Linked DNA regions of Homo sapiens: region 2 is linked to region 1. Evidence: promoter capture Hi-C in 16 types of primary human blood cells and fetal thymus (Javierre and others, 2016). All regions are on one chromosome and are shown on one strand. Each heading gives the region's core, a stretch centred on a gene start or on the middle of the fragment in contact. The rest is flanking DNA. Distances are from core to core; before and after follow the strand shown.

What was found. Contacts are between HindIII fragments. The CHiCAGO score rates a contact against its expected background, and 5 or more counts as called.
Region 2: a fragment that was not itself captured here is called in contact with the fragment with the promoter of TXLNG in region 1 in 1 of 17 cell types (total B cells); the score reaches 5.9 in total B cells.

Annotation. Positions count from the first base shown.
Region 1 is chrX:16,783,883-16,789,388 of GRCh38, reverse strand. It overlaps TXLNG (taxilin gamma), which reads right to left and starts at 2,923. Exons shown (of 10, transcript NM_018360.3): 1 at 2,800-2,923. The coding sequence starts at 2,901. LOC124905250 (a long non-coding RNA gene) reads left to right here and starts at 3,123. Exons shown (of 2, transcript XR_007068398.1): 1 at 3,123-3,319; 2 at 3,426-3,729. RefSeq lists enhancers at 81-581, 2,624-3,356, 3,328-3,527 and a silencer at 2,138-2,577. The HindIII fragment of the contact is 8,203 bases long and covers 1-5,506 here.
Region 2 is chrX:17,048,094-17,053,642 of GRCh38, reverse strand. REPS2 (RALBP1 associated Eps domain containing 2) reads right to left here. Exons shown (of 18, transcript NM_004726.3): 7 at 1,198-1,261. Among named protein-coding and RNA genes, the nearest start is that of REPS2, 100 kb to the right of the region's middle. The HindIII fragment of the contact is 3,790 bases long and covers 1,714-5,503 here.

The DNA.
Region 1 (5,506 bases), core at 1,674-4,173:
TTTAGAAAATTCCTGAAGAGACCCCTAGTAATGTACTGTAACATTACCTTTAGAAGCAAAAGGTTACCTCAAGAGACCATTCAAATGGTTGTAGTTATGAAACAATGCCACAATTAACTGAGCAGGTCGCGAGTGACTAGGCAGATGGTTAAAGCAACCAGGAACCAAAAAAGCCCATCTCCAATTGTTCCTCACTTCAGGTCCCATAATGTAACTAGATAATGACAAAACACTCACTTTTCTTTTAATTCTTTCAATATTTTCAAAAAACTCAATTCATTAAACATTTCTGCTTCCTGAAAAAAAGGATAGAAGTTAAGCTGGAATTAAGAAATATTTTTTCAAGTCAGTGACCCAAAAGAAATTTTAAAATTAAGGGACACAATGAAGTAATGTAAAAATGATTTTTAAAAAAATTTTTGGCCAGTTGCAGTGGCTCATGCCTGTAATCCCGCCACTTTGGAAGGCCAAGGTGGGTGGCTTACCTGAGGCCAGGAGTTCAAGACCAGCCTGGCCAACATGGTGAAACCCTGTTTCTACTAAAAATATAAAAATTAGCTGGGCGTGGTAGCACACATCTGTAATCCCAGCTACTCAGGAGGCTGAGGCACGAGAATCGCTGGAACCCACGAGGTGGAAGATGCAGTGAGCCAAGATTGCATCACTGCACTGCAGCCTGGGTAACAGAGCAAGACTCTGACTCAAAAAAAAAAAAAAAAAACACAACAAGTTTGTTTGTTTTTTTAAGAGACAGGGTCTCACTCTGCGGCCCAGGCTAGCCTCCTGCTTCAGTCTCCTGACTAGGTGGTACTACAGGTGCATGCCACCATAGCTGGCTTAAAAATGATTCTTGCAAACACAAGATAATTCACCCAATTTGTTAAATGAAAATTCAAAGATTAATATTTTACCATGTATTTGAATGCCGTCACTGTCAGTTAGAAATCAAAAAGAAAAAGATGCTCAGAAGAGCATAAGCAAAGAAGAATGGAGTATGAGGTACATAAACAAAAATGAGTAGACACACACATGACTATTCCTATCCAGCTGTTAACCAGAGCTCTGCACCTCAAAGGGTCATTACCTCCTATCTTGGTTATTTTAAATGCTAGTTGATTAAACCTCAGTTCCTAATTCAACGACTTTTTGTCCTTATCCCAGTGTCATAAAAGGGAACTTATATCCTCAATTGCAGTGGCTTTTTATCAGAGTCCTCCTCCCCTGGGGAACCTACGAAATCAAACACTGAGATTGGCACTCCACCCTTAGGGAATAAGTGAAGTGTCCAAAGTGATGGTGTTGAATCCCTTACAGGACATTGGTCCACAGCTTCTTTTTCAGTCCTGCAAGCACTGGATCTTTCTTTTAGAATACAAAGAGAGGGAGAGAAAGAAAGAGAGGTAATTGAGAAGTAGTAACACTGTCATGCAGAAACATGAAAATACCTGACCTTAGAAACAGGCCCCAAAAAGCTAATTCTTAACACTCTGCTCAGACGTAAACTGGACCTTTGTTCTCCCATTTGAAGTTTATGAATTGCATTAGAAAAATATTATTTCGTAATTTCATACAGGAGTTAAGAGTGTTCAAATACATAATTAAGTAATATTAAATAGCCCTCGGTGATCAAGCAAGATATCCAACAAGTCGAACGTTTCAGTATGTTCACCTGCAAGGAAAAAAAGAGATGGGGTTCCCACCTTCCCAGTCTCAGTCCCCGCAATTATCCATTCCAGGGCCCCGAAAACCCTGTACCCCGTTCGTTGTGCAATCTTTTTCAAACTCCACCCACTGAGCTCCAGAACAAGTGGAATTGTCCCGTTCTGAAAGAGGTCTCAATTTTCCTGTATCTAGGGAGGGACTGAAAACTCCTTGACGTGAGTCAAGTAAGGCAAGGGGAACAGTCCGGCCTGTTTCCCAGATTAAGAAAGACCCAAGGCCAGGGTCGGGAAGGCATTCAAGTTTCCACTCATCAAATTAAAAAAATAATAAATGAAAGAAAAAAAAGAGGGGAAAAAAGAGGAGGGTGGTAAATAGGACTGGGAGGACCAGCTATCATGCGATATCCCAACTCTGCAGGACCGAGGTCCTCCAGCATCGCCTCCCCATCCATCCCCGGCCCCACGTGCAGCCAAGCCCTCGGAGCCCCGGGGTCTAGGTCCCGGGGGCCGAGCGTCCCGCTCGCACCGGCCCTGCGACACTCACCCGCTCGCCTGCCCGCCCGCGCAGTGGCGGGGAGCGCAGGGGGGCGGGGGAAGGGGGGCCAAGCACACCCCGGCTCCCGCGCGGTTATCTTACTGCGCAACAGCCTAGCCTGAGCAGCCCGGGGGCACCCCGCAGCGCGCCCTGCGCACCTGCCCGACGCCAGGAGGGCGAGCCCACGACCCCAGCGAGCCCCCGGACGGCGGCGCTCAGCGCCGGGAGCACGGTGACGGCGGTGACTGGGAGAAGGAACGCCTGGCGCCCGGATCCCCGCGGTGCTGGCCGCACGTGGCTGTCACACCTGGCGCACCCCCGCCTCGCACCCCTTCTCCCTTAGAACCGCGTGCGCCCCCTGCCCTCCCTCCCGGCTTCCCCGCCGCGCGCCGCCAAACCCCAACCGTCGTCCCTTCCCACCCCATCCATCGCGGTCCCACCCCCCCCCACCTGCTCCCACTGTCGTCACCCCCGGGAGGGAAGAAGACCGGATGTTCGTCCCGTGGCTATAGGTAACCAGGGAGAGAGAAGAGGTGGACCCTGAAAAAGGGAGCCCAAACATCCCCCGGGCCCGACAACAACGAGGGCGTCCCCCTGACTGACCTTCTGCCGCGGGCTGCGTCGCCGTCCGCCCCGTCCGGCCTCAGTCGCCTCTTCGGCGCCGCCGCCTCTTCCCCGCGCTGCCTCCTCTACCCGCGTCGCCATGAGGTGACGGCAGCAGCCAAACAAGCGGCCCGACAAGGGGCACAGAATCTCGCAGGGCCTTTCGCCCCGCCCCCGAGCCCCCACGACCAATCGCCGCATGTGAGACTTCCCACGTGACCGGAGGAGGTTGGCCCCCGAGGGGACGGAGCGAGATGGGGATGGGGAGCATTGAATACTGGGCTGGGCTTCAGCAAGACCGAAGGGCAGATAGAGGCCGTGTGAGTCTGCGCGGATCGGGAATGGGACTCGGGAGTGGACTACAAGTCCCAGCAGGGCGTGCGGCCACAGCTCGCAGGCTCGGATCGGGATTGGGACATAAGGCGGCGTTCTGAAAAGGGGAGAGTGCTGCACCCAGTGTGCTTCGTGTGCATCCTAGTGGGACTTGCGGTTTCTGGGGGCGATGTCTGGCTATAGGAAGGTACTCGTTATGATCTTTCGCGGAAAGTTTAGAAATATCCCCGTGTTTGAGAAGGAGCACGATCGGCGACACATTCTTGTGTTTTTGTTTTTGTTGCCGTTCTTAGGAATTGGGCGCGAATGATTTGGGGATAAGGGAAAATACTTCACGACTTTCAAGACGGAAGGTGTATTGGCTCTTAGAATTTGAAGTTTCGTGCTCGGGCACCTGCCCCGAGCCCTGCCCCTCCACCAGAGTTGTTACCACGGTTTACTTGTCCCGAGCTCCCGCGGGATAGGTGCCGCATTCTATTCACCTTGGTTGAACCGCCCCGGCTTCTGCACACTTACTTGGCACTTCATTCATGTTGAATGTATCCTGCTTTCTCCCACCCCATTTACTCGTTTCATTACCTAAATTTTTTCAACAAACTCGGTTTGCTGAACCGAATTTTTTTTTTTATTGATATGATGTTGGGGGGGAGAGGGGAGATTTCCTCAGGAATATTCCCTATTTCCATCTGATGGAACCAGATCTCCAATGGCCGAGCTTCTGAAAGGCACAGACCATCATGAAATCCTGATATATTGTCTTAAATAATTCATTATGAGGCCGGGCGCGGTGGCTCACGCCTGTAATGCCAACACCTTGGGGGACCGAGGCGGGTGGATCACAAGGTCAGGAGTTCCAGACCAGCCTGGCCAACACAGTGAAACTCCGTCTCTACTAAAAATACAAAAATTAGCCGGGCATGGTGGTGGTGGTGGGCTTTTCTTTTTTCTTTGTTTTTGTTTTCCCAAGACGGAGTCTTGCTGTCACCCAAAGCTGGAGTGCAGTGGCACGATCTCAGCTCACTGCAACCTCCGCCTCCCAGGTTCAAGCAATTCTCCTGCCTCAGCCTCCCGAGTAGCTGGGATTGCAGGCACGTGCCACCACGCTGGGCTAATTTTTGTATTTTTAGTAGAGAGAGGGGTTTCACCATGTTGGCCAGGCTGGTCTTGAACTTCTGACCCCCTGATCTGCCCTCCTCGGCCTCCCAAAGTGCTGGGATTACAGGTGTGAGCAACCGCCCCCAGCCGGTGGTGGGCTTCTGTAATTCCAGCTATTTGGGATCTGAGACAGGAGAATCGCTTGAACCCGGGCAGCAGAGGTTGCAGTGAGCCAAGATCGTGCCATTGAACACTCCAGCCTGGGTGAGGAGAAACTCCATCACACACACACACACAAAAGTAAGTTATTCCTCAAAAAAAAATTTTTTTTTAGAGATGGGGCATTATGTTGCCCAGGCTGGTTTCAAATTTCATGATTTTCTATATTGTTTAAGTATGTATGGAATGAAAAAAATCAATAAAGTTATCTTTATTAAGGAAAGAGGCCGGCCACGGTGGCTCACGCCTGTAACCCCGGCACTTTGGGAGGCCGAGGCGGGCGGATCACCTGAGGTCAGAAGTTCAAGACCAGCCTGACCAACGTGGTGAAACCCGGTCTGTGCTAAAAATAGAATTAGCCAGGCGTGGTGACACGTGCCTGCAATCCCAGCTACTAGGGAGGCTGAGGCAGGAGAATCGCTTGAACCCGGGAGGCGGAGGTTGCAGTAAGCCGGGATCACGCCATTGCACTCTAGCCTGGGCAACAAGAGCGAGACTCCGTCTCAAAAAATAAAAAGAAAAGAAAAGAACTATGCCATTAACCCCAAGCCTTCAGAGAAATGAAAAATATTTAATTGAATTAAATGCATATCTTTTTTTTTTTTTTTTTTTTTGAGACAGAGTTTTGCTCTTGTTGCCCAAGCTGGAGTGCAGTGGCCAATCTCGGCTCACTGCAACCTCTGCCTCCCGGGTTCAAGTGATTCTCCTGCCTCAGCCTCCCAAGTAGCTGGGATTACAGGCGCGCCCCACCACGCCCAGCTAATTTTTCTATTTTTAGTAGAGAGGGGGTTTCACCACGTTCGCCAGAATGGTCTTCATCTCTTGACCTTGTGATCCGTCCACCTCGGCCTCCCAAAGTGCTGGGATTACAGGCCTGAGCCACCGTGCCTGGCCTCTTTTTTTTTTTTTTTTTAATGCAGAGTCTTGCTCTGTCGCCCAGGCTGGAGTGCAGTGGCATGATCTCAGCCCACTGCAATCTGCACCTCCCAGGTTCAAGGAATTCTCGTGTCTCAGCCTCCCTAGTAGCTGGGATTACTGGCGTGCACCACCACACCCGGCT
Region 2 (5,549 bases), core at 2,359-4,858, 260 kb before region 1:
GGGCCGGGCATGGTGGCTCATGCCTGTAATCCCAGAGTTTTCAGAAACCAAGGCAGGAGGATTGCCTGAGGCAAGGAGTTCAAGACCAGACTGGTCAACATAGCAAGACCCTGTCTCTAGAAAAAAATGAAAAGCTAGCTGGGAGGCTGAGGTAGGAGGATCGCTTGAGCTTAGGAGTCAGAGGCTGCAATGAGCTATAATCATGTCACTGCACTCCAGCCTGGGTGACAGAGTGAGCCCTCATCTCCAAAAAAACAAACAAACAAACAAAAAACAAAACAAAAACAAAACTAATATAAGGCTTGTAAAAACAAAAAAATTATGCCAGAGTATATATTGTTGAAGAACCTAAATCCAGCTCAGAATCCCAGATACATTGACATGCATGAGTATTATTGGAGTAGTTTTCCAATAAGATGCACAAAACATGACAAGCAATTTTAAATCCTATCATAATTCTGTAAATCCTCATGCAAAAAGCTTTATATAAACATTATAATGTTTTTAATTATATATTTATAGCAGTGCGATCTCCTGCCCAGTTTTGGGGAAGAACTAGCCCACACACAGCCGAGAGTTTACAGCAGCACCAAGCATTTTCATGAATGCAAATAGAGCCATCTGGACCATCCCAGCATAGCCCTTTTGGAACCAGAGTGCATAAAGGTGCAGTGGATACCACAGCTGCAAGTCTGAATTAGGGCCCAACTGATAAACACCAGCCAAATTTGCAAAGCTCAGAGGCAGCTAGAATAGTCAAATCTAACCTAACTCCAAAATATTCCTCAACCTTCTGTTCACTCAGCCTTATAAAATATAAAAAATAGTTTGTCAAGCTCCTCTGGTTACTTGTATCACACCTAGCAGAAAAGTCTGAAAATGAAATCTACAGGATGGTAAGTCTCATGTGCCCACAACTGCCTAGACTGAAAAGGGATTGAGATGGGGATAATAATTAGGAAATTACTTTAAAATAATAGTTAACACTCATAGTGCTTAATACGTGCCAGACATTGTTCATTGTACTTTTCATATAACATTTAATTTTCACAGCAACAAAAATCTGAGTTGTATTCACTCCTGTAGTCTGTTAAAAACATCATTCAAAACATAAGCCTTTAAAAAATGCAAAGGTAGGAACTAAAGGATGAGTTATGGATGATGGTATGAATGTCATATGGCATTAATTGTACTTACCATATATAGGAGAGTTCTGGAATGGAAAGCTTTGATTTGGTGAAGAAGTTCTTGGCCACAGAACCTGTCAAGTGCCATTGTTTAAATAAACCATTAATTACTCAGCTAGAGTAGCTTTTACATTTATATACAAATGAATCACAATTTTTTCATTCAGCAATCTCTTCTGTATAACCACAAACATATTTATTCCTCAAAGCAATTATGAATCATGGGACCAAAAGCAACACATGAATAGCTTTTTTAAAAATATGTAAATTACAATAGGGCAAAAGAAGCAATAACATAATGCTCATGAAAGATGCAAATCACATAAATTAATTTCTGCTTCATTTTTACCAAAATCTGCAAAATTTTTCCAAAAATTTAGAAGACGAAGTTCAAAACTTTGAACAAATTTGGCAGATTTCAAATAGAAATTTCAAATAGAAAAGTAATAGAAAACTGACCAAAAAGAAGAAAATTAATACCATTGATCACACCACACAGAGATAAGACAGACATCTTGGGAAAGCTTTTGGTGAGATTTAAGAATTCCTAGTGGCATTTTGAGAAACTTATCCAGGAATCTTTCTTCCTTCATTGTTGATTTACCTGTATCAACTGAAATCAGGCAATCATTCCACTTTACATGTTACATAACTGCAAGACCCAGCTGTTCTTGAAATGTTAGACCTTACTGAGATTGAATTTGAATGCTTTCAGCTCCCAGTACAGTTTGATCTAGCAATTCCACTCCTAGGTATGTATTCAAAAGAAATAAAAATATATGTTCACATAAAAACTGGTACACAAATATTCAAATCAGCATTATTCTTAATACTCCAAAAGTGGAAGAACACCATATGCCTATCAACTGATGAATGGATAAATAAAATGGGATGTACTGATATAATGGAATTATTCAGCCATAAAAAGGAATGAAATTCTGGTACATACAACATGAATGAGCCTTTAAAACATTATGCTAACTGTTGGTGGGAATTAGTACAACCACTATGGAGAACAGTTTGGAAGTTCCTCAGAAAACTACAATTAGAGCTACCATATGACCCAGCAATCCCACTACTGGGTATATACCTAAAAGAAAGGAAATCAGTGTATCAAAGAAATATGTGCACTCCTATGTTTGCTGCAGCACTGTTTACAATAGCTGAGATTTGGAGGCAACCTATGTGTCCATTGACAGATGAATAAAGAAAATGTGGTATGTATACACAGTGGGGTACTATTCAGCCATTAAAAAAAAATAATGAGATCCAATCATTTGCAACAACATGGATGGAACTGGAGATCATTATGTTAAGTGAAATAAGCCAGTCACAGAAAGACAAACATCGCATGTTCTCATTTGTGGGATCTAAAAATCAAAATGATTGAACTCATGGACACAGAGAGTAGAAGGAAGGTTACCAGAGGCTGTGAGGGGTAGTGGCAGGGAGAGAGTAGGGGCGAGGCGGGGATTGCTAATGGGTACAAAAAACTAGTTAGAAAGAATGACTAAGACCTACTACTTGATAGCACAATAGGGTGACTATAGTCAATAACTTAATTGTATATTTTAAATAACTTAAAGAATGTAACTGGATTGTTTGTAACTCAAAGGATAAATGCTTGAGGGGATGGATACCCCATTTACCATGATGTGATTATTATGTATTGCATGTCTGCATCAAAACATGTCACATACCCCATAAATATATACACCTATGTACCCACACAAATGTTTTAATTAAAAAAAAAACTAAAACATTATGCTAAATGAAAGAGACACAAAAGACCACATATTATGAGATTCCATTTCTAGAAAAAGGGATACGTTCTGAGAAATGCATCATGAGGTGATTTCCTCATTGTGCGAACAGCACAGGGTGTACTTACACAAACCTAGATGGTATAGCCTACTATACACCTAGGCTAGATGGTAGAACCTATTGCTCCTAGGCTACAAACCTGTACGGCATGTTCCTGTACTGAATACTATAGGCAGTTGGGACACAATAGTAACTATTTGTGTATCTAAACACAACTAAATATAGAAAACAGCCTGGGCAACATAGTGAGACCTCCTCTCTACAAAAAAATTAGCCAGGCAAGGCATAGTGATGTGCACCTGCAGTCCCAGCTACTAGGGAGGCTGAGGTGGGAGGATCACTTGAGCCCAGGAGGTCAAGGCTGCAGTGAGCCGAGATCACATCACTGCACTCCAGCCTAGGCACAGAGTAAGACCCTGTCAAAAAAAAAAAAAAAAGAAAGAAAGAAAGAAAGAAAGAAAGAAAGAAAGAAAGAAAGAAAGAAAGAAAGGAAGAAAGGAAGAAAGAAAGAAGAAACATAGAAAAGGCAGAGTAAAAATATGGTATAAAAGATGAAAAATGGTTCACCTTTGTAGGTCCCTTACCATGAATGGAGCTTGCAGGACTGGAAGTTGCTCTAGGTAAGTCAGAGAGTGAGTGGTGAGTGACTGTGAAGGCCTAGGACATTACTGTACACTACTGTAGACTTTATAAATACTGCACACTCAGGCTACACTAAATTTACCAAAAAAAAAAATCCTTTCATCAATAATAAATTAACCTTAGAGTGTAAGTTTTTACTTCATAAACTTTAAAATTTATTTTAACCTTCTTGACTCCATTGTAATAACACTTGGCTTAAAACAAAAACACACTGTACAATTTTAAAATAACTTAAGAGTGTAGTCAAATTGTTTTCAACTTAATAGATAAATGCTTGAGGAAATGGATACCCCATTCTTCATGATGTGCTTATTTCATATTGTGTGCCTGTATCAAAACATCTCATGTACCCCATAAATATATACACCTATGTACCCACAAAAATTTAAAAATTTAAAAAAATTGCACAGCTGTACAAAAATATTTTCTTTCTTTATATCTTTATTCTATTATTCTATTTTTAAAATTTTTAATTTTTTTACCATTTAAACTTTTTGGTTAAATACTGAAACACAAACACGTATAAACTTTTTGGTTAAAAACTGAAACACAAACACTTATCAGCCTAGACCTTCACAAGGTCAGGACCATCAATAACACTGTCTTCCACCTCTATACTGTGGAGGTGACTAGAAGAGGACAATAACCTGCAGGTAGCTGCCGCCTCCTAGGATAACAATGCCTTCTTCTGGAATACCTCCTGAAGTTCCTGCCTGAGGCTGTTTTACAGTTAACTTTTTTTTATATATAAGTAAGAGTATACTCTAAAATAACAATAAAAGTATAGCATAATAAAAGGCCAGGTGCGGTGGCTCATGCCTGCAATCCCAGCACTTTGGGAGGCTGAGGTGGGTGGATCACGAGGTCAGGGGTTTGAGAGCAGCCTGGCCAACATGGTGAAACCCCGTCTCTACTAAAAATACAAAAATTAGCCTGGTGTGGGGCATGCACCTGTAGTCCCAGCTACTCGGGAGGCTGAGGCAGAAGAATCATTTGAACCCGGGAGGCGGAGGCTGCAGTGAGCCAAGATCGTGCCATTGCACTCCAGCCTGGGCGACAGAGCAAGACTCCATCTCAAAAAAGAAAAGAAAGAAAAAAAGTATAGCATAATAAATACATAATAAGCTAATAATAGCCATTTATTATTAAGTATTATATACTGTACATAATCATATGTGCTAGGCTTTTATACGACTGGTAGCACAGATTTGTTTTTACCAGCATCATCACATTTATGTGAGCACTGCCTTGTGCTACAACATCATGATGGCTACAGCATCACTAGGTGATTAATGGAGCTGGAATTTTTCAGCTCCGTGATACTGTTATGGTACCGCCATCATTGACTGACTGAAACAACCTTATGTGTTAACTGTAGGTAAGAGAAAATCATTGGGGCTATGTGATAGGTACACAGAGGTTTGTTGTATCAGCCAGACTAGTTGTGTCTATATCTGAAATTCTGCAAGATACAAAAGTTAAAAGAAAACAAAAACATTTCTAACAAGTACCTGTTTGTATTTGGCTAAATATCTGCACATGTCGTAAAGAAACTCACCTGAGCACGGGGTAAGGTTAGCAAGTGGTCAAATCGTGCAATATGGGTTTCTGCTTATTTTCCTTAATCATGACGTCAACATTAATTTGTTGTATCTGTACTATTCTGCCGTCAATAAAGCCATTACCACCAATCAGTAAATGATGTTTGCAATTACTTATACAAGTATATTTCAATTATGTGCCTCATTTCACAAGATAAAACTAATCTTTGCCCACACTTCAATATGGCAGGTTACAATTATTAAGGACATATTGTTATTCTTCAAATTTTAAAGTCTAAAAAGAAAGCTTTATGAATTTTTCTTCTAGACTCTACTATTTCACTGTTAGTCTTTC